Linked DNA regions of Homo sapiens: region 1 is linked to region 2. The links are contacts of gene promoters, found by promoter capture Hi-C in blood cells and fetal thymus (Javierre and others, 2016). All regions are on one chromosome and are shown on one strand. The core of a region is centred on a gene start or on the middle of the fragment in contact, and the rest is flanking DNA. Distances in the headings are between cores, read along the strand shown. Region 1 has its middle 18 kb from the start of THEMIS2. Region 2 holds the start of EYA3 (EYA transcriptional coactivator and phosphatase 3).

Evidence for each region. The method cuts DNA at HindIII sites, captures the fragments that hold promoters and counts their contacts. A CHiCAGO score of 5 or more calls a contact.
Region 1: a contact is called between a fragment that was not itself captured here and the fragment with the promoter of EYA3 in region 2, in 6 of 17 cell types (endothelial precursors, M0 macrophages, M2 macrophages and 3 more). The highest score is 12.4, in endothelial precursors.

The regions. Positions count from the first base shown.
Region 1 is chr1:27,852,435-27,856,602 of GRCh38, reverse strand. No RefSeq gene overlaps it. Among named protein-coding and RNA genes, the nearest start is that of THEMIS2, 18 kb to the left of the region's middle. RefSeq lists an enhancer at 1-65. The HindIII fragment of the contact is 5,873 bases long and covers 1-4,168 here.
Region 2 is chr1:28,086,264-28,090,372 of GRCh38, reverse strand. EYA3 (EYA transcriptional coactivator and phosphatase 3) reads left to right here and starts at 1,763. Exons shown (of 18, transcript NM_001990.4): 1 at 1,763-1,849. RefSeq lists enhancers at 1,824-1,893, 2,104-2,163. The HindIII fragment of the contact is 6,678 bases long and covers 1,643-4,109 here.

The sequences.
Region 1 (4,168 bases), core at 998-3,497, 230 kb after region 2:
CACTGCTGATCCTGGGAGTGAACAGAAGGGGCTCATCCATCTGTATTGTCATCCAGAGCTAATTAGGGTAACAGGCAGTTGAGCCCCATCTTGGAGTGCTCATCTCTGAGGGCACCTAAAACATAATTGGAATCAGAAGTATGGCGCCAGCTAAGCCAGGTTTCCACACATACATGCCTCCCCAGTTCTGCTTCCGCTTAACCGGGCCCTTAAAGTACATGAAATATCAGCCGGGGGCCATGGCTCACGCCTGTAATCCCAGCACTTTGGGAGGCTGAGGCAGGCAGATCACCTGAGGTCAGGAGTTTGAGACCAGCCTGGCCAACATGGCAAAACCCCACCTCTACTAAAAACACAAAAATTAGCTGGGCATGGTGGCTGGTGCCTGTAGTCCCAGCTACTCGGGAGGTTGAGGCAGGAGAGTCGCTTGAACCAGGAAGCGGAGGTTGCAGTGAGCCGAGATCGCACCACTGCACTTCAGCCTGGGGGACAGAGTGAGACTTTTGTCTCAAAAAAAAAAAAAAAAAAAAAAAAAAAATCCTTGCAGGTATGTATATTCTGTTGTGCCTTCTTTGAAATGCCAATCCAAGTTTCACTCTGCAACTCAGATTCTGAAAGCAAGAATGCATGGTGGCTCAGTGGCTCACGCCTGTAATCCCAGCACTTTGGGAGGCCGACGCAGGCGGATCACGAGGTCAGGAGTTTAAGACCAGCCTGGCCAATACAGTGAAACCCCATCTCTACTAAAAATACAAAAATTAGCCAGACGTGGTGGTGCGTACCTGTAATCCCAGGTACTTAGGAGGCTGAGGCAGGAGAATTGCTTGAACCTGGGAGGCGGAGGTTGCAGTGAGTCGAGACCGTGCCACTGTGCTCCAGCCTGGGTGACAGAGCAAGACTCTGTCTCAAAAAAAAAAAAAAAGAAAAAGAAAAAAAATGCATGGCATAACCTTCTCATCAGGAAGGACTTCATCTCAGCTATATCTAACATACTTTAACACACTTCCAGTAAGTTGTTCAGTTTGGACATCTTTTAAAGAACTACAAAACAGGCCAGACTCGGTGGCTCACGCCTGTAATCCCAGCACTCTGGGAGGCCAAGGCAGTTGGATCACCTGAGGGCCGAAGTTCGAGACCAGCCCGGCCAACATGGTGAAACCCCGTCTCCACTAAAAATACAAAAACTAAAGGGTGTGCCACCTATGGACCAAGCATATCCCCACCTTAAACTCTGGATTCAGACTAGAGTTTCAATCCTGTCTTCAGTACAGGGGGCTCATAGGGAAGTTTGTTTAGTCTCAGTCTCAGTTTTCTCATCTATAAAATGGGGATAAAAACAGAATTCCTCTTGGGGCTATGAGAATTAGATGACGTGCTGTAAATGGATACATGGTAGGTAGGTAGGCAGGTGCTTAGTGATTGTTCACCACTACCAACAGTACCATCTTCACTAAAACGAGAGGAAGGTATTGTCCTGATGAGGACACTCATTTTTTTTTTTTTTTTTTTAATTTATTTTTTTATTGATAATTCTTGGGTGTTTCTCACAGAGGGGGATTTGGCAGGGTCATGGGACAATAGTGGAGGGAAGGTCAGCAGATAAACAAGTGAACAAAGGTCTCTGGTTTTCCTAGGCAGAGGACCCTGCGGCCTTCCGCAGTGTTTGTGTCCCTGATTACTTGAGATTAGGGATTGGTGATGACTCTTAACGAGCATGCTGCCTTCAAGCATCTGTTTAACAAAGCACATCTTGCACCGCCCTTAATCCATTTAACCCTGAGTGGACACAGCACATGTTTCAGAGAGCACAGGGTTGGGGGTAAGGTCACAGATCAACAGGATCCCAAGACAGAGGAATTTTTCTTAGTGCAGAACAAAATGAAAAGTCTCCCATGTCTACTTCTTTCTACACAGACACGGCAACCATCCGATTTCTCAATCTTTTCCCCGCCTTTCCCGCCTTTCTATTCCACAAAGCCGCCATTGTCATCCTGGCCCGTTCTCAATGAGCTGTTGGGCACACCTCCCAGACGGGGTGGTGGCTGGGCAGAGGCGCCCCTCACCTCCCGGACGGGGCGGCTGGCCGGGCGGGGGGGGCTGACCACCCCCACCTCCCTCCCGGACGGGGCGGCTGGCCGGGCAGAGGGGCTCCTCACTTCCCAGTAGGGGCGGCCGGGCAGAGGCGCCCCTCACCTCCCGGACGGGGCCACTGGCCGGGCAGGGGGGCTGACCCCCCCCACCTCCCTCCCGGACGGGGCGGCTGGCTGGGTGGGGGGCTGACCCCCCCACCTCCCTCCCGGACGAGGCGGCTGGCCGGGCGTGGGGCTGACACCCCCACCTCCCTCCTGGACAGGGCAGCTGGCCGGGCGGGGGGCTGACCCCCCCACCTCCCTCCCGGATGGGGCGGCTGGCCGGGCGGGGGGCCGACCCCCCCACCTCCCTCCCGGACGGGGCGGCTGGCCGGGCAGAGGGGCTCCTCACTTCCCAGTAGGGGCGGCCGGGCAGAGGCGCCCCTCAACTCCCAGACGGGGCGGCTGGCCGGGCGGAGGGCTGACCCCCCCACCTCCCTCCCGGACAGGGCGGCTGGCCGGGCGGGGGGGCTGACCCCCCCACCTCCCTCCCGGACGAGGCGGCTGGCCGGGCGTGGGGCTGACCCCCCCACCTCCCTCCCGGACGAGGCGGCTGGCCGGGCGGGGGGGCTGACCCCCCCACCTCCCTCCCGGACGAGGCGGCTGGCCGGGCGTGGGGCTGACCCCCCCACCTCCCTCCCGGACAGGGCGGCTGGCCGGGCGGGGGGGCTGACCCCCCCACCTCCCTCCCGGACGAGGCGGCTGGCCGGGCGTGGGGCTGACCCCCCCACCTCCCTCCCGGACGAGGCGGCTGGCCGGGCGTGGGGCTGACACCCCCACCTCCCTCCTGGACAGGGCAGCTGGCCGGGCGGGGGGCTGACCCCCCCACCTCCCTCCCGGATGGGGCGGCTGGCCGGGCGGGGGGCCGACCCCCCCACCTCCCTCCCGGACGGGGCGGCTGGCCGGGCAGAGGGGCTCCTCACTTCCCAGTAGGGGCGGCCGGGCAGAGGCGCCCCTCAACTCCCAGACGGGGCGGCTGGCCGGGCGGAGGGCTGACCCCCCCACCTCCCTCCCGGACAGGGCGGCTGGCCGGGCGGGGGGGCTGACCCCCCCACCTCCCTCCCGGATGGGGCGGCTGGCCGGGCAGAGGGGCTCCTCACTTCCCAGTAGGGGCGGCCGGGCAGAGGCACCCCTCACCTCCCAGACGGGGCGGCTGGCCGGGCGGGGCGCTGACCCCCCCACCTCCCTCCTGGACGGGGCGGCTGGCCAGGCGGGGGGCTGACCCCCCCACCTCCCTCCCGGACGGGGCGGCTGGCCGGGTGGGGGGGCTGACCCCCCCATCTCCCTCCCGGACGGGGTGGCTGGCCGGGCTGAGGGGCTCCTCACTTCCCAGTAGGGGCGGCCGGGCAGAGGCGCCCCTCACCTCCCGGACGGGGCGGCTGGCCGGGCGGGGGGCTGACCCCCCCACCTCCCTCCTGGACGGCACGGCTGGCCGGGCGGGGGGGCTGACCCCCCACCTCCCTCCCGGATGAGGCGGCTGGCCGGGCGGGGGGCTGACCCCCCCCACCTCCCTCCCAGACGGGGTGGCTGCCGGGCGGAGACGCTCCTCACTTCCCAGATGGGGTGGCTGCCGGGCGGAGGGGCTCCTCACTTCTCAGACGGGGTGGTTGCCAGGCAGAGGGTCTCCTCACTTCTCAGACGGGGCGGCCGGGCAGAGACGCTCCTCACCTCCCAGACGGGGTCTCGGCCGGGCAGAGGCGCTCCCCACATCTCAGACGATAGGCGGCCGGGCAGAGAGGCTCCTCACTTCCTAGATGTGATGGCGGCTGGGAAGAGGCGCTCCTCACTTCCTAGATGGGATGGCGGCCGGGCAGAGACGCTCCTCACTTTCCAGACTGGGCAGCCAGGCAGAGGGGCTCCTCACATCCCAGACGATGGGCGGCCAGGCAGAGACACTCCTCACTTCCCAGACGGGGTGGCGGCCGGGCAGAGGCTGCAATCTCGGCACTTTGGGAGGCCAAGGCAGGCGGCTGGGAGGTGTAGGTTGTAGTGAGCCGAGATCACGCCACTGCACTCCAGCCTGGGCACCATTGAGCACT
Region 2 (4,109 bases), core at 514-3,013:
GTCAGGTTCTGGACAGATTTTGAAGGCAAATCTTGCAGAACTTGCTGATGGAGTACATGTGGGATATGAGAGAGGAGTTAAGGATCTTAGTAAATGATGTTGCTTAGTACATTGTTGTCATCGGAAGAGGTGATCAAATATACAGTCAAAAAATGTAGAAAAAATAGTTTTTTTTCTGGATTTTGTTATTCGTGGTATTTGTGAGCTAATAAAAATGTTTGTAATTTTTCTCATTATAAAAGGTTCACTTTTATATCTAATATTGTATTTGTAATTTTGGATTTTTTTTTTTTTTAGACAGTCTCGCTCTGTTGCCCAGGCTGGAGTGCAGTGGCATAATCATAACTCACCGCAGCCTCTACCTCCTGGGCTCAGTTAGGTGCGTGCCACCACACCTGGCTAATTTTTCTGGGTTTTTTTTGTTGTTGTTTTGCTTTGTTTGTTTTGTAGAGACAGGGTCTAATTTTGTTGCCCAGGTGATCTCCAACTCCGGGGCTCAAGCAACCGGTCGACCTCGGCGTCCCAAAGTGCTAGGATTTCAGGCATGAGCCACTGTGCCTGGCCTTGATTATTTTAAAGAGGGCCCCCAAATTGAATAAACGTCAAGTCTCCACAAAGCCTGAATTCAACCTTGCTTCTAGCCCATACTTGGGTTGTAATTTAAAATTAACGAAACATTTAAGAATTTTGCTTCCGAAAACAGTGTGCACGAAGTGAATTGTAAGCCTAATATAATATTAAGAATAAACTAAATTTGGGGATAAAAAGATCACCTTGGGGCTCACGCCTGTAATCCCAGCACTTTGGGAGGCCAAGGGATCAACCGAGCTCCAGAGTTGGAGACCAGCCTGGGCAACATGGCGAAACCCCGTCTCTACCGAAAAATACAAAAATTAGCCGGGCGTGGTGGTGCGCGCCGGTAGTCTTAGCTACTCGGGAGGCTGAGGTGGGAGGATCACTTGAACCCAGGAGGCGGGGGTTGCAGTGAGCCGAGATCGCGCCACTGCACTCCAGCCTGGGCGACAGAGCAAGACTCTGTCTCAAAAAAAGAAAAAAAAAAAGGGATGGGCGCGGTGGCTCACGCCTGTAATCTCAGCACTTTGGGAGGCCCAGGCGGGCGGATCACCTGAGGTCGGGAGTTCAAGACCAGCCTGACCAACATGGAGAAACCCCGTCTCTACTAAAACTACAAAATTAGCCGGGCGTGGTGGCACATGCCTGTAATCCCAGCTACTCGAAAGGCTGAGGCAGGAGGATCGCTTGAACCCGGGAGGCGGAGGTTGCAGTGAGCCGAGATCGCGCCATTGCACTCCAGCCTGGGCAACAAGAGCGAAACTCCGTCTCAAAAAAAAAAAAAAAAAAAGATCACCTTGGGCTAGCCTCCCAAATGTCTTCCAAAACTTCCCACTCATTCTCCTTCCCAGTTTTTCTAAATCTACCAAATGCACCCAACACTTCTTACGTTCCTTTTAGCCAGGTAGGGATTACGCGCATTTTTAAAGACCTCCTTAAAAGTGAAGGCTGTAGTACCGTCAGGACTGCCTAGCGCTCACCCAGAAGCTGCTTGTCTCCGAGGCACTAAGAGGGGCGTGGCCATGGGCGTGGCTCGCCGGGCCGGCGGAGTGGGCGGAGCCTAAAAGCTTCCCCGCCCGGTCAGACTCAACACATGCGCCCAGAGGTTTCTAGTGGAACGAGGTGTGGATTGTGAGGTGACTCTGGCCGCTTACTTCCGGTTCCTAGCGATGCGCATCCGGGTCACGCTAACGCCGCGGTTTCCTCCGCTCGATTGGTTCTACTGTGGGTCTGGACTGATCTCCATGTCCTGTTGTGGGGCTTTTACAGCCTTTGGGTGAGTCTCAGCTGCCAACAGGGTCTGAGCGCAGCCGGGCGAGCACAGCGTGAAGGGGGATGGGTCTAGAGTTCTGCCTCGGTCCTTGTGGGTGGGAGTCTCTTCGCCTGTCCCTTGTCACTGCAGTGCTTCACTCACCTCAGCCCTTTCCTTCACGCTGGCCTCGCCTTATTCACCTCAGCTTAGCCTTCTCGCGCTTCCGTGCCTCTGTCGCCTCGCTGTTTTTCCTCAGCCTCATCAGTCCTTTTCCAACCTCGGTTTCTTGCCTTACGCCTCAGCGCTTCTCTCAGCCACTGCCTCTCCTTTTTTCTCCTCCTCCCTTCTTTTAGAACCTCTTTTCCCCTACCCCTGATCTGGGATCTCAGCGTTCTTTCACCTAGCGAGACGGCCCAGCTTCTCATTGTGCTCACTCTTCACCACGAGAAACTGAGCCTCTCCCTAGGGTCCTAGTTCCTTGTCCCCCAACTTTCTTCAGCTTTGATCCTTCCTCCTGGGACCAGTAGGTGACAGTGCTTCTCCTGGGGTTCTTCTGCCTGTCCTTAGCTAGAGGAGAGCTTTGCCAAAGCCCCGAAATGGGAAGACTTCCCCAGCCTGGGGGAAGTTTTGCCTTAAGGCGCCGGGTTAGACTGAACTCTGGTAGCTTCCATAGTTAGGGTACAACAAAGGCGTTCCTAGTTCTTCGCTTTACCTCAGTTTTGGGGCTCTCTCAAGAGCAGCTAACAGGTGGCAGGCACACGGTACTGCTAGCAGTTGGGCTGGCGCGATCTTGTTAATTGACAAGTCATGAAGAAGTTCTGTCAGTTTTGTGTTCCCATGAGAATGGATGTGCACAGCTGAGGCAAAAACGCCAATATTTTGGGACGTTCAGCTCTGTTTTCGGCATGGACGCTTCTTACAGGACACTTGTGATGATAGAGGACAGAATTTGTGGAGAGATCATTAGCCCCAGATTTATGAATTTATTGTGTTGTTTCCGAAAAGTGGTCTGCTGAAGAGTTCACTATAGTAATTTCAAAGTAATCTTTAAACTTAGTATGCACATATGCATTTTTTCATTTTTACTGTATTAAGTTTTCTATTTGTCTTCCTCTTCCTTCATTAGCCAGACTTTACTTAGAATTACATTACTTAGAAGTACATTACTTAGAATATTCTTCTAACTTTTGTATTTTTTTTTCCTTACCATTTCCACCTTTGTAGTAAAACTATCATTTTCTCATTTTGAGATTTAGGGCACCTTTCTTAAATTTCCCTAGAGGTTTAAAGTCATTTATAACATGAAGGAATTGCATTTAATAATGGTTAGTGCTCCCTTTCCCAAATTTTGTGATCTAGAGTATAGGCTTGGGTAATCTTTATTTTTTCCCGATGTTTATAGTGTATATCTAGCACTTGATTGCAGCGGTTTTTGTGTCATCAGTTTCTGTAATCTATAAATTGTGCTTTAAAATGTAGTACTTCAGTATGAACTTAAATACAGCTTTGAGCACCTGCTTATCTTTTGGCTAATTAGCTATAGAAAAATCTTCATTATATGATACATATACATATAAGAGTGTATAGTCCTTGGCTTATTCCAAAATTGGGCTCTCTTCAGCTGTTTTTAGCAAAGGACTTTGGAGCTTGGCCATGTTAGTCCTAGAAGCCACGGAGAAGGACCCTTCTGATTGGCTTTCAGGACTTATCTAACTGCTAAGTGAAGCCTCTTTGAAAGTTTCTTATGTGTACCTCCTCCCCACTACCTAGCTCTAGCTTCTGTCCAACCTGGCCTATTTTCCATCCTTCAAAACAAACCCCAATGTGTATGGCTTACTCCAGCTGCTTCCTTACCTTCAGGTTTGTGGGCTTCATTTAAGCCATGGGAATGCCAGCTTAATTAATGCAGATTAAGATAAGAACATTAAACCCCAAAAATGATGGGAAATCACTCTGTCTTCAAAACAATAGAAAATAATAAAATCTAGTTATAAAGATTATATACCATTGTCACTAGTAAGAAGTGGCACTCTTATTTACAAAACATAAAGAAATTAGGGTTTAGGTCTGGCATGGTGGTTCACACCTATAATCCCCAGCACTTTGGAAGGCCAAGGCCAGAGGATTGGCCAGGAGTTCGAGACCAACCTGGGCAACATAGACAAAATTAGCTTGGTGTAGTGGTGTGCGCCTGTAGTCCCAACTACTCAGGAGGTTGAGGTTGGAGGATTGCTTGAGCCCAAGATTTTGAGGTTACAGTGAGCTGTGATCACATCACTGCGCT